2 separate regions of the Homo sapiens genome follow, and region 2 is linked to region 1. Evidence: promoter capture Hi-C in 16 types of primary human blood cells and fetal thymus (Javierre and others, 2016). All regions are on one chromosome and are shown on one strand. Each heading gives the region's core, a stretch centred on a gene start or on the middle of the fragment in contact. The rest is flanking DNA. Distances are from core to core; before and after follow the strand shown. Region 1 holds the start of LINC00917 (long intergenic non-protein coding RNA 917). Region 2 overlaps FENDRR (FOXF1 adjacent non-coding developmental regulatory RNA).

What was found. Contacts are between HindIII fragments. The CHiCAGO score rates a contact against its expected background, and 5 or more counts as called.
Region 2: a contact is called between a fragment that was not itself captured here and the fragment with the promoter of LINC00917 in region 1, in 1 of 17 cell types (endothelial precursors). The highest score is 10.8, in endothelial precursors.

What each region holds. Positions count from the first base shown.
Region 1 is chr16:86,344,369-86,346,957 of GRCh38, reverse strand. LINC00917 (long intergenic non-protein coding RNA 917) reads left to right here and starts at 1,279. Exons shown (of 7, transcript NR_024406.1): 1 at 1,279-1,466. The HindIII fragment of the contact is 3,722 bases long and covers 416-2,589 here.
Region 2 is chr16:86,495,438-86,498,026 of GRCh38, reverse strand. All of the region lies in intron 1 of FENDRR (FOXF1 adjacent non-coding developmental regulatory RNA), which reads left to right. Among named protein-coding and RNA genes, the nearest start is that of FENDRR, 12 kb to the left of the region's middle. The HindIII fragment of the contact is 5,562 bases long and covers 1-2,589 here.

The sequences.
Region 1 (2,589 bases), core at 30-2,529:
GTCTCATCTGTAAAATGGGGACAAAATATAAAATGTAAAAATACAAACCAGGAAGTTGGAAGTCATACACTTTCTGATTTCAAAAGTTACTAGAAAACTATGACAATCAAAACACTGTGGTCCTGACCTACATACAGACAGATAGACCAATGGGACAGAACACAGAGCCCAGAAAGAAGCCCTTTGACTTATTTGACATTCAAGTGTCTTGAGCCAAGACCCTTCAGTGGGGAAAGGGCAGTCTTTTCAAAAAATGGTATTTGGAAAACCAAATACCACACGCAGAAGAATGAAGTTGAGCCCTTCTCTTACACCAGATACAAAAAATTAACTCAAAAAGGATCAAAGGCATTACCATAATAACTAAATGTAAAAAAACTACAAAACTCTTAGAAGAAAACATAGGGGGAAAGCTTCACAATGTTGGACTCGGCAGTGGCTTCTTGGCCACGACACCCAAGAACAGGCAAGAAAAGGAAAAACAATTAAATCCATGCAAACACGTGTGCACAAATGTCCTCAGAGCGCTATTCCTAACAGCCAAATGCTGAGAGCAACGAAAATGTTCATTGACAGGAGAATGGATAAACAAAACGTGGTCCATCCATACAGTGGAATATTATTCAGCCTTAAAAAGGAAGGAAGTTCTGACACCTGCTATGACATGAGTGAGCCTTGAGGATATGGTGCCGAGTGAAACAAACCACTCATAAAAGGACAAACATTGTATAATTCCACAGACATGACTTGCCTAATGTCAGCAAATTCTCAGAGATAGAAAATAGCAGGTGGCGGAGGGCTGCTCAGGGTTACGGGGATGGGGGTGGTGTTTAACAGGGACCTTCCTGAGCTATTTCCTGATAGCAGCTGGGAGCCTTTTGAACAGCCTGCAGCGGGATTCTGGAACAATCTAAACTGGCCATGGCAGTTCCAGGGGCAGGGCTGACTTTGAACTCCAGCAGGAAGTGCAGTGCGAGGCCAGCTCACCCACTTCAGCGTCTCTTTCCTTTGTGTTGTTTAGACCCCCAAAAACACCCCCAAGTCCTGTCTCCCCTTGTGGAGGAAAGGCTGGTGGGAGGAAAGAAGGCTTGTTGAGTATCTACTGCACACCCGGCCCTGGGGCTACGGCTGGAAGCTGGACAGGCCGGGTCCTTGCCCTCCTGAGACCTGCCTTCTAGTGGGGAGAGAGATAGAGACGGAGGAAACAAAACACAGACCAGAGGATTTCAGAGGGTCTGAGGGCTCCGAGGAGAAGGAACACGATGATGTCATAGAGTCATTGTGGGGGAGGGGCCGGCCAGCCAGGGCAGGCAGGGGCGGCCTCTCTGACGAGAAGGAGGCCACTGGGCTGAGGCCAATGAATGGGAAAGAGCCAGCCATGTGGTGAGCTGGGAGAGGGCATCCCAGGCCGTGCGACCTGCGCTTGCAAAGGCCCTGGGGCCGGACAGTTCTTGGCAGAGTCTGAGGTACAGGATGATCCCTGGATGAGCGCCTGAGTGCACGAAGCATGGGTGGAGAGGGTCAGCTCCCAGCGTGGCTGCAGGAGGGGGTCGTGTAATGAATACTAAGTGCCAGTTCTGCAGGATGGAAACAGTTTTGAAATTGGACGGTGGCGATGGTGGTGCGATAATGCGAATGGACCCAATGCCACTGAAATATTCACTTTAAAAAAGTTAAAATGGCAAGGTTTACATTAACTAGACTTTGCCATAATAAAAGAAAAAGGAAAAAATATAATAACTGTGTGAAGTTGAGATGAAATGATGCAACTAATAATTTAGTTTGGTTAGCAAAGAGTAGGCACTCACATAGTTCAATATAACCATCATTATGACGGTACCCTGTCAGTGCTGGGGGATGCTTTATGAGGGAGGTGGAAGACGAGGAGGAGGCGGAGAGAGAAAGAGAATCAGCTTCTGTTATCCACAGCAGGATGCCTCTGGAGTTGTTTGAAGTAGAAAGGTAGTCCATGTGATCCCGTTTATATTGTAATATTGCTTGAGTAGGTCTTTAAAATTACAAAGTACTAGATAGAGCTAACTCAGCCCAGTCCTAATAATCACGACTCCTTGAGTATCTGTGAGGCTTCTGGTACGTTCTCTACAGTCCCAACATTGGGACCGACTGAACCATGTGTTGCACATTAAATCCAGGGTCCGGGACACCTCCCAGGCCACCTCTGTCATTTCACAAGTGCCAGGCCATCTTCTCAGTGCTTGTGAGCATCCCTTCACACTCAATCCTTCCCACACACCTGCCAAAGGGAAGGAGGCAGGAACCACCTACGGATGCCAAGAAACAGGCGGCATGGTCCTCCCGCCCTCGAGGCTGTTACCACCTGGAACACCCCACCCCAAAAGTAAGACCACCTACCATCTGGGCTTCTGTCTCACACAGGATATAGCCTCTCAGTGGCCAACTGTTTTTAATAAGGGTCTGCCAGTTCTAATGATATTGCACAGACACGGGGAAGGGGAGAGAGGAGACAGGACTTTGTCATGAGCTGTTCATCCCTCCAACAGCAGTGCTGGTGTCACGGCTGATGGGCAAAATTCCTACAGATGCCTTCTCTTAGAAACTCACTTCCCT
Region 2 (2,589 bases), core at 60-2,559, 150 kb before region 1:
GTAGTAAGCTCTATTTGGGGCGGGGCGCGCCCGCGGAGACCCTGCGCGGCGGGAGGGACATGTGCACAGGCGCGTGGGGGTGGGGTGGTTGTGAACCAGGGAACGCAGACCCCCGAGAACCGCCAGATAGTCGCTGCGTCCACTTAACCCGGCGGCAGAGCCCTCCGCATGATTGCTCTTCCTCCACCAAAAGCCCACCCCAGCAAGCGTGGGCCTCCAACCCCAGGCCGGAGGTCCCAGGCTGCGTCTCACCTCCCGCCCCCTTCCCCCGTCCCCGCCTTGCGTCCGGCTTAACGAAGACCGCTCGGGTTCCAACTCAATTAGCTCGCTGCAGAGGCCGCCGCCGGCGTCGAGCTCCTCCAGCAATTAGGGGCGCGCCGGCTGGGGCCGGGGGCGGGGGCGGGGCGGGCAGGTAAAGACGGAACCAATTTGCCTAGAGGGTTTATCAACAAGTGGCTTAACTAGGAATTTGCGTTGACAACTCAGCACCTCCGTCGGGGCTCCGGAGGCGGCGGAGGGCCGAGATGACAGGCTGAATGGAGGGGCGGGGGCGGGGGGGGCGTCCTGGGAGCCGGGAAGACCGAGGCTTCAGAGCCACCCGAAGCCACCTCGGCCGAGCCCCGCGCGCGGCGTGTGCCGAGTGGACCGGAGCACCCGGGGCGCGTTGCCGGGACTCGGGGCTCGGCAGGCGGGCGAGCACGGGCCGGTGGGCGCTGGACTGTCTTTCCCGACGAAGTAGGTGGCCGTGTATATTTTTGTTCAAGTGGTGTTTATGTTAATGAAAAAAGGATGGAATTACAAACAGCCAGCCGATCGCGCCGCGGCCGCCGGAGACTCGCCGCGCTCTGGTCCCAGGCCCAATCAAAGGGAGCGCGCTCTGGGCCGCTCTGGGACCTCCAGCAGAAACCTTCTCCCCCCCACCTCCTCTAACTGGGTGAAATTGCCCTGCCCGCCTCTCTAACTTTCTCCAAATCGAGAACCCTCTGTTTGCAATCAGCCCCCTCACCTCGTTCCCCCCACCAACCCTCGGTAGCGCAATCAGGTTTGTGGATAAGAAAAACCCTAATTTAAGTCCCGCAGCTCCTTTTTTTTTAAGGAGCACTCAGATAACGCTTCCGGGACACTCGGATGCGGCTAGAACTCAGTCTCCCTTATCCCCTTCACCGCTCTGCTCCTTTTCATTTTCGTTTTTTTCTTTGTTTTTAATAATATAATTAGCCCGGATTTTGACATTATTTCCTGGCCGGCTGCCTTTTTTTTTTTTCTGGGGCTAAGCAATTAGATTTTCTAAAGGCCCTATCAAGTCCTTCCATCCCGAGAGAACTTTTTTTTCTCTCCCCCTTTTCCGGATCCCACTGCCGTCTTTTCCTCCGTGGATAGGCAAGGACCCTGGCGGTGCTGCCCTCCTTTGCTTTGGTTAGAGGAGAACGGCCAGCAGGAGAGACAGCCCGACTTGCAGCAGCGGGAGAGAGACTGACCCACGAGGCTGGTGACCTGGGCCGTGTCTGTGGCCCTGGGACAGGGTCGGTGTTTCCTGGGTCAGGGCAGCCAGGCTGATGCGGGCACCACGCCTTTGGGCGACCACAGCCCGGCGCTTCCAGGTCCGGTCCACTTATCAGACACCGCATAGCTGCGTCTCCACAGACAAGGTGAAACGGAGACTCGGCGGGCGTCTAGCCCAGTGGAACTTTCGGAGCCGTGTCTAATCTTTTCCTAGAGGAACTTTGACTGGGGAGATTTGGGTTGTCCGCCCTATTTTCTCTGGTGGTCGCCATAGTCTGCTTGTGTAGATGCTGTTCCCTCCCTTTCTGGCCAGTTCAGCCTGGGTGTGGGTTCATTGGACCCCCGCCCGCCTGCAGGTGGAAGGCAGGGCCCAGAGAACACCCGGCCTGGGTTTTCCACCTGGAGAGATGGACCTCCTGGCACCGCTGGGGCGCCATCCCCCAAGCCCTGTTGTGAATCTCTGCTTTCCCCGTTACTACAAAGAAGACCGACACTGCTTCACACACGCTTTGAAGGCCGAGCTCACCAGCCTGGTAATCAGATTAGCACCCCGGCGGTAAAGAAGTCAGTCGATCCCAGGAAACAACACTTCACAAGGAAGAGGGGACATCGAGAGATAGATAATTACTGGACCAAATTAAAGTTTTGCTTGTAAACTTTCTCCCCCATGGAAGGAGAGTTGTTCTGAGGGTGGTTCCTTCCAACTCCTCCAAAGTTGACGTAGCGATAATGCTCACAGCCTAGGGAGTGAGTTACTTGGGGATGAGGCATTTCTTTGAGGACTTTGTCCCACTTTCTCTCCTCTGCCACCTCAGAGGAGAGCAGCAGACCCCTTGATTGGGGGCCGGGAGGTTGCTGCCCCCCATCAAGGGTCAGCCTGGGGGCTGCTTCCAGGGCCTTGGGTAACAGAGTGGGTCAAGCATGGGGAAGGCGAAAGGCTGTGTTTTTATCTCCAGATCAAAGGATATTGAAGTGGAAGGTGCAAACTAGGTGTGTAGGTGCATTTTTGAGAATAGCAGCATCATAGTTTCCACCGGATACAGCAAGTCCCTAACACATCTCCCTCCCAAATAAAAACGACCAAGA